5 separate regions of the Homo sapiens genome follow, and regions 1, 3, 4 and 5 are each linked to region 2. The links are contacts of gene promoters, found by promoter capture Hi-C in blood cells and fetal thymus (Javierre and others, 2016). All regions are on one chromosome and are shown on one strand. The core of a region is centred on a gene start or on the middle of the fragment in contact, and the rest is flanking DNA. Distances in the headings are between cores, read along the strand shown.

What was found. Contacts are between HindIII fragments. The CHiCAGO score rates a contact against its expected background, and 5 or more counts as called.
Region 1: a fragment that was not itself captured here is called in contact with the fragment with the promoter of ACSM4 in region 2 in 1 of 17 cell types (M2 macrophages); the score reaches 5.7 in M2 macrophages.
Region 3: a contact is called between a fragment that was not itself captured here and the fragment with the promoter of ACSM4 in region 2, in 3 of 17 cell types (naive CD4 T cells, total B cells and endothelial precursors). The highest score is 6.0, in naive CD4 T cells.
Region 4: a fragment that was not itself captured here is called in contact with the fragment with the promoter of ACSM4 in region 2 in 4 of 17 cell types (M2 macrophages, M1 macrophages, neutrophils and 1 more); the score reaches 9.6 in M2 macrophages.
Region 5: a fragment that was not itself captured here is called in contact with the fragment with the promoter of ACSM4 in region 2 in 1 of 17 cell types (M0 macrophages); the score reaches 5.3 in M0 macrophages.

What each region holds. Positions count from the first base shown.
Region 1 is chr12:7,603,614-7,606,313 of GRCh38, reverse strand. It overlaps the pseudogene NIFKP3. Among named protein-coding and RNA genes, the nearest start is that of APOBEC1, 61 kb to the left of the region's middle. The HindIII fragment of the contact is 8,497 bases long and covers 1-2,700 here.
Region 2 is chr12:7,302,724-7,305,586 of GRCh38, reverse strand. It overlaps ACSM4 (acyl-CoA synthetase medium chain family member 4), which reads right to left and starts at 1,515. Exons shown (of 13, transcript NM_001080454.2): 1 at 1,055-1,515. The coding sequence starts at 1,255. The HindIII fragment of the contact is 4,163 bases long and covers 1-2,781 here.
Region 3 is chr12:7,564,840-7,567,539 of GRCh38, reverse strand. It overlaps the pseudogene GAPDHP31. Among named protein-coding and RNA genes, the nearest start is that of CD163, 62 kb to the right of the region's middle. The HindIII fragment of the contact is 1,581 bases long and covers 503-2,083 here.
Region 4 is chr12:7,625,336-7,628,197 of GRCh38, reverse strand. No RefSeq gene overlaps it. Among named protein-coding and RNA genes, the nearest start is that of APOBEC1, 39 kb to the left of the region's middle. The HindIII fragment of the contact is 7,553 bases long and covers 1-2,862 here.
Region 5 is chr12:7,647,526-7,650,225 of GRCh38, reverse strand. APOBEC1 (apolipoprotein B mRNA editing enzyme catalytic subunit 1) reads left to right here. Exons shown (of 5, transcript NM_001644.5): 5 at 530-826. The coding sequence ends at 679. Among named protein-coding and RNA genes, the nearest start is that of APOBEC1, 17 kb to the left of the region's middle. The HindIII fragment of the contact is 3,723 bases long and covers 1-2,700 here.

The DNA of each region.
Region 1 (2,700 bases), core at 162-2,661, 300 kb before region 2:
AGGGTCACACCCTGGTCCCCTTCCTTGCTTAAGTTTTTGTTTCCCAATAGCAAAACTTTATTCCCTTTTATGGGCTGACCCCTCCTCTACATTCTGTTTGCTTATTATGACTTTCTACGTGCATAAGCTGTGCAGTTTGTCATATCCGCAGGCTGGCTGCGAGTACTTAGGTCTATCATGCCTTGAAAATGGACCATTAAAATGTTTTCTTACAAGTTCCCTTTTTTTTCTTTCCTTTCCTTTTCTTCTCTTCTCTTTTCTTTCTTGCTTTCTTTCTTTCTTTCTTTCTTTCTTTCTTTTCATCTTTTGGTCTTATTTTTACTTTAATTTTTGGGTCCTTTCGTCCTCAAATCATTTTAGGACTACTTTACTTTCTTCTTCATAGTCTGGTTCAGTGTCTAACAACAGTAAGTTATTTTGCTGGTAGGTCATGGGCATTTGTTTGTTAATAGCTGTTCCAATTAACCTTTGTGCTAGTTCCAGTATACAAGGGATAATATAGCATCCCACTGCCCTTAAGGCCCTTGCTACAATTATGAGAGATGTAAGGACTGAAGCTACCATGCCTTTCCATTTCCCAAACCAACCTTCTAGCCAACCAGTAAATCGGTCATCAATTCCAGCATTTTCTGCCAGTTTGTTGGTGAGAGTTTTCCGTCCTTGTAATGCTTTTGTAATAGTTCAATCTGGGGCAGTATTGTTGGGAATGAAAATACAACATTTCCCACCCAGCATAACACATATGCCCCCTTTATCTGCTAGTATCATGTCTAGCTCAAGCCTCTTTTCCCAGGCCATTCAGCTGGTGGCATGTAACTGGCTAGTTAATTAAACTCGGGTGTCCCGAGTATAATTGATGAATTTCTGTTGATAATAATAAATAGAATTAATCCAATCCACATTTTTATTAATAGCTGATCATGAGAGGAGTGCTGACTGAAACCCAGCAGCTATTTGGTTTCAGGCCTTAAATTCATTAGGCATCCCCTCTAGGGACTCCTATGAAGGCAACATATATATTACGATCAAAAAAATTTGTTGGGGAGCTGAGAACCTGACGTTTCTAGGAGTGCCTCGTAGAGTTAGTGATGGCCGCTTTTGGCATGGCAGCCTTTTCTGTACCAGCTGGGCCAATCCTGTCACTTAACCCGCAGGAAGATGTCGAGTTTCAAAAGGAGGTGGTAGAGGTTTGCAAGTGCACAACCCAGCAAAAAGAACAAGAACAACTTACTCCTAGAGTAGTCTTTGTGTGCCACCTACTTAATGAAACCCAGATCTTTTCGTATTTCTCCCAGTTTGGCACTGTTACATGGTTCAGACTGTTCAGAAGTAAAAGGACTGGAAATAGCAAAGGCTATGCATCTGCAAGTTTGAGTTTGAGGATGTTGCCAAGATAGTTGATGAAACAATGAACAAGTACCTGTTTGGTGAAAGACTCTTGGAGTGTCATTATATGCCACCTGAAAAAGTACACAAAGAGCTCTTTAAAGACTGGAATATTCCATTTAAGCAGCCATCTTATCATCAGTGAAATGTTATAATCAGAATCGGACACTAACACAAAAGCTACGGATGGAGGAGTGATTTAAAAAGAAACAAAGATTACTCAGGAAGAAATGAGCTAAAAAAGGAATTGATTATGATTTTCCTTCTTTGATTTTACAGAAAACAGAAAGTATTTTAAAAACTAATCATCAGACATCTACAAAAGGCCAGGTTTTCTGTAAGAAGAAGAAAAGGGTTTTTGGCACTCTTGACACTCCTGAGAAGACCGTGGATAGCCAGGGCCCCACACCAGTTTGTACACCAGTATTTTTGGAGAGACAAAAATCTGAAGTGGCTGAAATGAATGATGATGATAAATATAATGAAATAGTTTTCTAACAGCCCATATCCTGTATAAAAGAAGAAATACAAGAGACTCAAACACCTACACATTCACAGAAAAAAGAAGAAAAACAATCAGTGATTTTCAATGTATTATGTGTAATATTTCTTCTGAAAAATATAATATTTTTATGAGAAAAAAAGAATTTGTTAAGTCTCTCTTGTTCCAATGGCCATGTGTATTTTCAGGTATTTTATGGAATGCCAGGGTGAAGGGAATGGCCAATTGAACTAAAGCACAAGTCCTGGTCCAATTAGATGGTAACAGGTTACCGAGGTTCCTGTTCCCATAATACCATCAGACATCAGCCCAGGGTATATAAAAGCTGAGTAATTGCCATTGCCTGACTTACCTGTGATGTTTAGAATGTGGGTACAAGTCGAGAGTTCTCCCATAGGCTTATTGAACTCTGCCCCTGCCTAAAGAGGCAAGAGGAGTGGTTCATATTCCCTATAGAGAAGGAGGGGATTGCTCTGGAATCTGACCTCCACAATGTGGGAAAGATCAATGACAGACTCTTATGAGTCTCATTTCCCCATGCATCCTTGTCCTGGTTTAGAGCCAACATGCAACACATTCCTTCAGGATCAATACCCAGCCTAGGGGAAACAGAAACACCTGTGCCTGAGGTCCTCCCACAGCACACGTGTAGCAGTTGCTCTTGTTCAGTGTTTATACCAAAAATTTGAGCCATTTGACCCAGGCATTCACATCTCTGTTCCCTGTCTCAGTTTCTAAGGTTTGCCATAAATCCTTTACTTCAATTATTTCTACTCTTTTAGGGTCATTATTTGATGGATTAAAGTGTGTGT
Region 2 (2,863 bases), core at 266-2,765:
GGCCTTGGATAAGTAGCTTAGCTTCTATGAGGTCAAGTTCCTCATCTGCAAACCTCCCAGGTTGTTATGGGGATTTGGTGAAATAATATAGGTCAGTATTTCTCAATCTTTAGTCATTTAAGTCTCATTGTTTCTGTCAGCTCTGCCTGCACCTGCACTATTCTTCTTTATTTTGTATACTTCGCTACATGGACTCACTTTTTACTTTTTACGTGTATACATTTACTTAAGAAGGAATATATATTTAATCAGCACCATTATTGGACAATTATTACCACTTGCCAAAAAATAGGTTATTGAAAAATAAATATGCTGAAAACAAAACTATGCCATTAAATTTTATCTAGAGATGATTAGCTTCTACCTGTGGTCTTTATTCAAGAGAGTGTTTAGCAAATGATAGGTGCTAAAGACACAATGGCTTTCAAGGAAGGCTTTCCCCCTGTATTTAACAGGAAGAATTGATTCAATGTTATTTAATACCTTGTCTGTCTAGTACCTAACATCATGTTCCCATCCATGGTCCTGCAGTGCATTTTGATAAGCACTGCTTGGTTAAGTGTTTAGCTCAGTGCCTGGCATGGGGTGAGGATCAGTACACAGAGACCTCATCCTGAGGCTGCACTGTAAACATTGCATAAGGGCCGCTTGCTTTATTCTTGTCAACCTCCAATTCTCTCCTCATTACTCCAATGATAACTGTATTCATAAAATCAAAACTCAATTTGCTACTTTTTCGATAAGCCTGTGACCAACTTGAAAACAAAGCACTGTTGCATGGGGCTTGGAGAAAAGAGAAGGAAAAGAGGCAGAACTCTGTGAGGAACGACCATGGGGATGGGAGATAGAGAAGGCTCCAGAGCCGCCCAGCCATTTGTGGCTGAGGATCTAAGATCTTCCCTGGGGAGAGGGGAGGGCAATTGGAAAACAAACAAAGGAAACCAAGAGGGTGAGAGAGTGCATTGGAATTAAGTGGTAGACCACAGAACAAGGAAATGGAAGACTGAGAGATAAGGGGACACCAAGCATCTACTGGAAGCCCATCGTCATATACCTTCTCCTTTTGGGACCACTGGTCCAGCACATCTGCAGCAAAGTTAAAGTTTTTAGGCAATGGCCTGTTACAGCGATTTATGGCTTCAAAGTCAGCAAGAGTCAGAGGCGTCCAAAGCTGGTGATCTTTGTGTAAGCGCCGGCCAGGTGGCTTGGTGAGCCAGATGAATCTAAATGTCTGGTAGCGGAAAAAAATCTTCATGGTTCCCAAAGGACTTTGTCTACTGCTATGGACACAGAAGTACTACAGCCTGTAGGGAGAGATGGATAGAGAGTATCAGTTTCTTGATGCTCTGTGGTGAGACTGGGAGGTGGATTTGTGGCTGTGTGTCCCTGGCAAGTTGGGGAACACCTGAAAAACACCTCATCCTTCCTCAGAGCTGCTGCCTTAGCCACTGACTGGTCTCCCTGCCACTGGACCCTTCCTCTTCATTCTGTCTGTGACCAGATGAGTCTAAAAAAACCCCTTAACTACAGAATTGTCAGACTCCTGTCTTCTGTTCCTGTCTTCTCCCCAACCAAACAACAGACAAATAGAAACTTCGCTGTCTGGACTGGCATTCAGAGCCTCCTTTCGCCTGCTTTATACACTGTTCTGTGTCTGCTAACTCCTCTACTTGAATTTCCTCTTCCAGTAAAGGAGGCCCGTTAACTTGCCATGAATGCCCCACTAAGAGTTGGCCTGTCATTTCCCTGGCTCCTGCTTACCCTGTTCTCCTCTCCCCTTCAACTTCCCATTGTGATTGCTTGGAAACCTGGGTTTAAGTCCTGGTTCAGCCACTTTCCGGCTGTAGGACTTTGGACAAGTTACTTATCTTCCTGCACCTCAATTTTCTCATCTGTAAAATAGGGGAAAATATAGTACCTCCCTCCTACAGTTATTGTGAGGATTTAATAAGATAATGTGTATAAAATGCCTAGCTCGTAAAAGGTGACTTCAAAGTGTTAATTACTACTGTTGTTTTTTTGTTTTTCTGTTTGTTTGTTGTTTATTAAGAAACAAGGTCTTGCTCTTTCACCCAGGTTGGCGCAATCACAGCTTACTGAAGCCTCAAACTCCTAGGCTTAAGCAATCCCCCTGACTAAGCATCCTGAGCATCTAGGACTACAGGGGCCACACCACCATGCCTTGCTAATTTTTTTTTTTTTTTTTTTGTAGAGATATGGCCTCACTATGTCACCCAGGCTGGCTTGCCTCCAACTCCTAGCCTCAAGTAATCTTCCTGCCTTGGCCTCCCAAAGTGCTGGGATTGTAGGTATGAGCCACTGCACCCAGGCAACCACTGCTGTTGTTAAGATTATTTTCCTTAATATTATTGTGGCATAGTTTTATTTTAAAAAATCCTACCATATGAACCAGAAGACTTGGATTTTATTTCTTTTTCAAAAACTGCTTTTAATATTGGTAAAATTGCCTGCTCTTTCTGGACTACCATCTGTAATCTAATTAATTTTTTAAATAATTTTGTGTTTATTTCTTCCCTGGGTTTTCCGTAACATGCATTTATGCTATTCATGTGACAGTTGTCTACTTTGTATTATCAATGATAGTTTTTCATATATGTGCCCTGTCTCCCTACCCAGCCGGTATGGGTTGAGGCTATGTAATGTGTTCTTAGCACTAAGCATGACTCACAGAAGATCTGCAATAATAAAAGGCAGTTTTTAGGTTCTTGATGTAGGCAGGCACTTTGCATTTCTGATGTCATTCAATATTCATGACAAGCTTGTGAGGTTGGTGCTATTATTATCTCTATCTTACAGATGAAGACACTGAGGTTTAAGTACACTTAAGGATCTTATCCAAGGT
Region 3 (2,700 bases), core at 44-2,543, 260 kb before region 2:
GTGGGGCTCCCTAGGTCTCTCCTTCTTCAGAGGATCTGGAAACTGTGAGGAGAGAAGATTCTGTGTGGTCGGGGACTGAGTGCAGCAGGGAATCCCCAGCAGCTAAGGGTCCCTCTCTTCTTCCTGCGCTCTCCCTGGGGTTAGTGATTGGGGGATTTTACTCCTCAGAGGCCATGTGTACCATGAGTCCATCACCTTGTTACTGTAGGCAAATTCATTGCCATACCAGGAAATGAGCTTGACAAAGTGGTCATTGACGGCAATGCCAGCCCCAGCTTCAAAGGTGGAAGGGCGGGTATTGCTTTTAAATTCCAAAGGGACAACCTGGTGCTCAGTATAGCCCAGGATGCCCTTGAGGGGTCCTTGGGTGCCTGCCTCACCACCTTTTTGATGTCTGAAGAAACCTGTCTAGCAGGTTTCTCCAGACAAGAGGTCAGTTCCACAACTGACACAGTGGTGCTGGGAACACAGAAGACCATGCCAGTGAGCTTCCCATTAAGCTTAGGAATGACCTTGCCCTCTCATTGCCCATTTACTTGGCAGCACCAGTAGATGCAGGAATGGTGTTCTGGAAAGCCCCATGGCTGTCATGCCAGAGTTTCCTGGAGGGGCCATCCACAGTCTTCTGGGTGGCAATGATGCTGTGGACTGTGGTCATGAGTCCCTCCCTGATGCCAAAGTTGTCATGAATGACCTTGGCCAGGGGATCTAAGCAGTTGGTGGTACAGGAGGCATTGCTGATGACTGTGAGTTTGTTTTCATGCTTATGGTTCATGCCCATCACAAACATGGGGACATCTGCAGAGGGGATGGAGATGATGAACCTTTTGGTTCCCCTCTCCAGGTGAGCCCCAGCCTTTGCCAAGGTAGTGAAGATGCCATTGGACTCCATGACATAATTAGCACCAGCATTATCTCATTTGGTTTTGGTGAGCTCTCACTCCTGGAAGATAGTGACGGGATTTCCATTGATGACTAGCTTCCCATTCTCAGCCTTGATGGTACCATGGAACTTGCCATGGGTGGGATCATAATGGAACATGTAGACCATGTAGTTGAGGTCAATGAAAGGGCCATTGGTGGTAACAGTATCCACTTTGCCAGGATTAAAAGCAGCTATCATGAACAGGCACCTAATATGGCCAAATCCATTTACTCCTGCCTTCACTTTCACTCTGGTGTCTCAGGAAGAGGGCTGATGCTGCATAAGAAAATTGGATATTTGTCCAATGGGAGAAGCAGGGAGGTCGCTGGAATTTTGATGGGGTTGCACTGAAAATGCTTATCATTTTAGGTGGTATAAACAGTCCTAATATCTTGAGACCAAAGATGTCAGGTATTTATATCTGTTCTTTCCAGTTCCTTCTAGATACCCTCAGCTAAGACAACTAAAAAACATGCACAAGCCTTATATATGAAATAAGGAAAGTATAAAATGCTAATGTTACAATTACAATTGTTAAAAAGCTGGTGATCATTCTTTTCAGAGATACAACATACCTACTGTTGACACACACTTAAAGTATTTAACCTGGAAACAAATTACTTGCTGGGGCTATAATGCTATCACATGAGATAGGAGCCCAACTTAATATACTACTATTATTAGCTCATATATCCCATCTCCCAATCTTTTCTAAAAATTATTTTACTTTAAGTTCCCAGATACATGTGCAGAATGTGCAGGTTGGTTACTTTGGTATATGTGTGCCTTGGTGGTTTTCTGCACTATTGACCCATCCTCTAGGTTCCCTCCCCTCACCCACAAACCCTCAACAAGCCCTGGTGTGTGTTGTTTCCCTCCCTATGTCCACGTGTTCTCATTGTTCAACTTCCACTTATGAGTGAGAACATGCAGTATTTGGTTTTCTGTTCCTGTGTTAGTTTGCTGAAGATGATGGCTTCCAGCTTCATCCATGCTCCTGCAAAGGACATGATCTCATTCCTTTTTATGGCTGCATGGTATTCCACAGTGTAGATGTACCACATTTTCTTTTCCAGTCTGCCATTGATGCATATATTCTCTTTAAATTGATTCCAACAGAAGTTGTGTTTCCTTTTTTTTAACCTAGAAGAATAAGCTTGGATAAAAGTTATGTTTTTCTTAATAAAGAGACATATTTCTTTTTTTCTTTTTTTTAAATTATACTTTAAGTTCTAGGGTGCATGTGCACAACGCGCAGGTTTGTTACATATGTATATATGTGCCACGTTGGTGTGCTGCGCCCATTAACTCATCATTTACAGTAGGTATTTCTCCTAATGCTATCCTTCCCCCCTTCCCCCACCCCACAACAGGCCCCGGTGTGTGATGCTCCCCATCCTCTGTCCAAGTGTTCTTGTTGTTCAATTCCCACCTATGAGTGAGAACATGTAGTGTTTGGTTTTCTGTTCTTGCGATAGTTTGCTCAGAATGATAGCTTCCAGCTTCATCCATGTCCCTGCAAAGGACATGAATTCATCTTATTTTATGGCTGCATAGTATTCCATGGTGTATATGTGCCACATTTTCTTAATCCAGTCTATCATTGATGGACATTTGGGTTGGTTCCAAGTCTTTGCTATTGTGAATAGTGCCACAATAAACATACGTGTGCATGTGTCTTTATAGCAGCATGATTTATAATCCTTTGGGTATATACCCAGTAATGGGATGGCTGGGTCAAATGGTATTTCTAGTTCTGGATCCTTGTGGAATTG
Region 4 (2,862 bases), core at 77-2,576, 320 kb before region 2:
TCCAGCCCGGGCGACAGAGCTAGACTCCATCTAAAAACAACAACAACACAAAATCGCGCCACTACACTCCAGCCAGGATGGTGAGACCCTGTCTCAAAACAAACAGCTGCAACATAAAAAACCCAAAAACCAAACCATAACAAAAAAAACCTGGAAATTGAACTTGGGCCCAGGATGGAAACTGACTACCTGAAGAGGTGCTTTGGAAATTGCCTGGCCCAGGCACTTGCACTTGACATGCATGGGGTATATTCTTCCACGTACAATTACATATATGCATTCATATGATTATGTACAGTAGTAGTAGATTATTAAATGTTGAAGAGCACTAACACACCATGTACATAATGGAACTGTATTTAATATTTATTTTTGGTAGTGATATGGCACATGAAAATAATTTGTTTTCTCATGTAGAAAATTCAGGGAATGGCTTAAATAGAATTTCAGCTTTGGGGGCTCATAATTGAGTGAGAGGCTTCTTCCTTGATTCCCCTGAGAAGGAAGAAATCTTCATTTTTGGTTTGCAAGACCATGAAAACAGTAAGTACAACAAATGAAATACTTTACACTCAAGGAAACATGTTTTAAAAAACAGAGAAGATATAGAAAAGAAGTATAAGTAATATATTCAAAGAGAGACTAAACGATATTTTATTAATTTTAAAAGCCATAGATTATAAAAATAAAAGTTTGCCCTATGAAAATAGAAAGAAAATCCTTAAGATAGTAGGTGAAGAACAGAATGGATAATGCCAGAAAAATTTTGACCCGAGAGACCTAAATAAGTAATTCTCCCAAAATACAGTAAAAGGGGAATAATGACAAAGAATATAAAAGAGATACGGAGGATACATATACAGAAATTTCAATATGCATCCAAGTTATAGAAATATTAAATGGAGTAGAGTACAATCAATAATAATTATAACAACAATAAATGAGAAATTTTCAGGATTTAGCTAAAACATAAATCTTCATCTAAACTTCAGAGTGGAAAAACACATAATACTCAAAGGAAATACAATTATATTGACTTCCAATTTCTCATCACCAACACTAGGAAGAAGAAAATTTAAAAGAAAAATCTTTGTCACCTTGGGTAAGCAAAGAGTTCTTGGACATAAGACCAACACCAAAGGACAAACTAATAAGGTAGATATTATGAAAATTAAAAACTTTACTTCTTCAAAAGACCATTAAAAGATTGGAAGGCTAGCCATAGTCTGGAAGAAAATAATTGCACATCATATAGTTAATAAGTTTGTATCTAGAATACATAAAGAACTCTCATAACTCAATTTTAAAGAGTAAACAATAGGCAAAAAGATTTGAACAGATACTTCCCCAGGGAAGATACTCAGATAGAAAATAGGCACCTGAAATTAACATCACTAGTCATTAGAGAAATGCAAATTAAAACCACAACCAAATACCAATACACAATGATTAGAATAGCTAAAATAAAAAGACTTTACAATACCACATACTGGCAAGGAGGAGGAATAACTAAAAATTTCTTATTGTTTAAATGCAGAGTGGTACCATGGGGCTGGAGCCTACTAGTCTAATGAGGTTTTAGCTTAATAAAAGTGTTTAATTTTCATTCAATTAATGTGGGATAAAGTTTTACAGTCCTTATTTTTCAGGAATTAAGTATGATATACTTGCTTAAGACTTTGAGGGTTGTTGTTCTGGCTAACCTAAATTCCTGATCCAATGCTAAAAATATTCGTGCAAGGGGGAAAGAAAAGATTGATAATATCCTAAGTGGAGATAGAAAGGCTATTTTGTTTGTATTCTTCACCTGGCATTTTGTTTTTATGTTGTTGGTTGTTGGCAATATTTTAAGTGGTGTAGAGTAAATCAGTCAGACATAAAAATATAAACTAAGTAAAGCTATGATAGCTACAAATGTTGGTATAATAAACTATTGTTCTTTGACATGAATAATAATTCATTTAGGTAAAAATCTGGTAAGTGATGGTAGACTTCCTAAGGAAAATAAGGTAACTGAAATTGTGGTTGCTTAGGGTGATAATTGATTTCATGTGTATGATGATGATAATGCTGTGGTACATATATTTAATAATAATTGCCTTCTGGGAGCACAGCTTAAATTTCTCATTTGCTTTACATCCTGCTGCTCATTTGAAATTTTCATTGGTTCACAGATATTTTAAGTAGCAAACACAGCTCTGAGGGCAGAAAATGAGACAGTTATTGCCTTGAATTATACTTCTGATGGTGCGAAGAGTAGCTCTTTCCCCCCGCCATCATACTTACTGTGATCTCTGTGGCTCCTGTAATTTTTTTTTCCTTTCCATAAACCAGAAATACATCATCAGAACAATTTATGGCTAGGCATGCCTGTAATCCCAGCACTCTGGGAGGCTGAGGTGGATGGATCACCTGAGGTCAGGAGTTCGAGACCAGCCTGGCCAACATGGCAAAACACTGTCTCTACTAAAATACCAAAAGATTAGCCAGGTCTGGTGGTGTGCGCCTGTACTCCCAGCCACTTAGGAGGCTGAGGCAGGAGAATCGCTTGAACCTGGGAGGCGGAGGTTGCAGTGAGCCGAGATCATGCCATTGCACTCCAGCCTGGGTGACAGAGGGAGACTCCGTCTCAAAAGAAGAAAAAAAAAAGAAAAATTTATTATTGAAATACTCAGTCAGCACCTGCAGCCCTCCCTACCAAGATGGCTTTGTGGCAGGCCAGGTCTCACTAATGCAGGCCTCCATAACAACTGTTTCAGAGTGGTTAACTATTAAAAGCCAGTGCTCTTATACACAGGTTGGAATGTAACAAAAGCCCAGCAAGAGTTTTGCCTAGGCCTTTCCCGAACCTTAAAGCATGAT
Region 5 (2,700 bases), core at 15-2,514, 340 kb before region 2:
CACATATTGGCTCTACTGTATTTCAGATATTCTCCTTTCTCTTATTAGTGTGTGTAATCTTATTGAAGAGAATGTACGTGTTCCATTGGATTCTCTTGAAAGTGGTTCAGGCTGGGTGCAGTGGCTCATGCTTGTAATCCTAGCACTTTGGGAGGCAGAGGGGAGTGGATGGCTTGAGCCCAGAAGTTGGAGACCAGCCTGGGCAACATGGCGAAACCACATCTCAACAAAAACACAAAAAAATTAGCTGGGTGTGGTGGTGCGTGCCTGTAGTCCCAGCTACTTGGGAGGCTGAGGTGGGAGAATTGTTTGAGCCTAGGAGGTTGAGGCTGCAGTGAGCTGTGATTGCACCACTGCGCTCCAGCCTGGGTGAATGCAGTGAGTCCAGAACCAGACCCTGTCTGGGAAAAAAAAAAAAGAAGAAATAGTTAAATCGTCTTCCAACTGACATTTTTAAATGTTTGTGGTGATAATATTATTAATTAAAATATTCATCCTAAGGATTAAATATAATCCTTTTTTATTCCAGAGTCTTCCACCCTGTTTAAAGATTTCAAGAAGATGGCAAAATCATCTTACATTTTTCAGACTTCATCTTCAAAACTGCCATTACCAAACGATTCCGCCACACATCCTTTTAGCTACAGGGCTGATACATCCTTCTGTGGCTTGGAGATGAATAGGATGATTCCGTGTGTGTACTGATTCAAGAACAAGCAATGATGACCCACTAAAGAGTGAATGCCATTTAGAATCTAGAAATGTTCACAAGGTACCCCAAAACTCTGTAGCTTAAACCAACAATAAATATGTATTACCTCTGGCAGTTTCTGTGGGTAAGGAATTTAGAAGCAGCTTATCTGTGTGTTCCTGTCTCAGGTCCCCCACGAGGTTGTAGTCAAGATGGCAGCCAGCGCTGCAATCATTTGAGGGCTTGACTGAGGCTGGAGAATGTGCTTCCCAGGTGGCAGGCTCAGATGGCTGGCAAGTTTGTGCTAGTGGCTGGTAGAAGGTTTCAGTTTCTTGCCACACAGGCCTCTCCACAGGGTTGCTTAAATAACCTCAGGACATGGCAGTTGGCTTCCTACAGATTAATTTACCTTTTGAAAAATTTCCTGTAGAGATGGAGTTTTGCTGTGTTGCCCAGGCTGGTCTCAAAGTCCTGGACTCAAGTGATCCACCAGCCTCGGCCTACCAAAGTGCTGGGATTACCGGTGTGAGCCACCATACCTGGCCCAGAGCGAGTGATCGAAGAGAGACCAAGGTGGAAATTTCCACGACTTTGATGACTTCATCTTGGAATCACACCCTATTTCTTTTGCAGTATTCTATTTGTTACACAGGCCAGCCATGACTCAGAGTAAGAGGGGACTCATACACAAGGATTTGAAACTCAGGACATGAAAATCACTGGAAGCCATCTTGGATTTTCCCTGTAGGGGCTTTCTCTGTTTTCAGACAAATAATTACATGGAATCAATTTCTGAAGACACAGATAGAGGGAAACAAAAGACAAAGTAGTAACATCTATTATTATTTGTTTCTTAATTAGAATATCATGAGATTCACAGGTGATTTATAGAGGACTGGATGACCAGATGCAGAGAGGAGCTACCATCTCCATGAGAGCTTCGGAGACCTGCAGAGACATTGCATGACTTGCCTGCGGAAGTTGTTTGATAGGAATTCTCATTGGTTTACAGAAATAATATTGGTTAGTGATTGGCTATACATGGTGTCCAGCACAGGGCATTTTGTGGCTGCTTAGTGTCAGTCTAGAGCCCATGTTGCAAGGGGCTTTAAGAGGTAATTAGCTCAAGCAGAGAGTGAGATGTGATTGCTGTCACATTTTTTTTTTAAGTTTTTTTTTTTTTTTTTTTTTTTTTTTGAGACAGAGTCTCACTCTGTCGCCCACGCTGGAGTGCAGTGGCACAATGTCCGGCTCACTGCAAGCTCCGCCTCCCAGGTTCAGGCCATTCTCCTGCCTCAGTCTCCCGAGTAGCTGGGACTACAGGCGCCCGCCACCACGCCCGGCTAATTTTTTGTATTTTTAGTACAGACGGTGTTTCACCGTGTTAGCCAGGCTGGTCTCGATCTCCTGACCTCATGGTCCGCCCGCCTTGGCCTCCCAAAGTGCTGGGATTACAGGCGTGAGCCACTGCGTCCAGCCTGCTGTCACATTTTAAATATTCCTCTGGGCTTGATAATTTAAAGGAGCTCACATTCCTCAGATAAAATGTTCATTTTCTTTCTCAAACCTAAACATAATATTAACCACCGCTATATTATCATTTTTAGTAGGAGGATGAGAAGGGCTAAATCAGACACAATTACAAAAAACTCTTAGCCTACTCATCAATTACTCATATAAGCTGAGTAACAGCAATTCTAATTTATAACTCCTTTATAATAATATTAAATCTACTAATGAGGCTGGGCGCGGTGACTCATGCCTGTAATCCTAGCACTTTGGGAGGTCGAGGAGGGCAGATCACTTGAGGTCAGGAGTTCGAGACCAGCCTGGCCAACATGGTGAAACGCGGTCTCTACTAAAAATACAAAAATTAGCTGGGCGTGGTGGTGCACGCCCGTAATCCCAGCTACTCAGGAAGCTGAGGCAGGAGAATCGCTTGAACCTGGGAGGCGGAGGTTGCAGTGAGCCGAGATTGCACCATTGCACTCCAGCCTGTGGGACAAGAG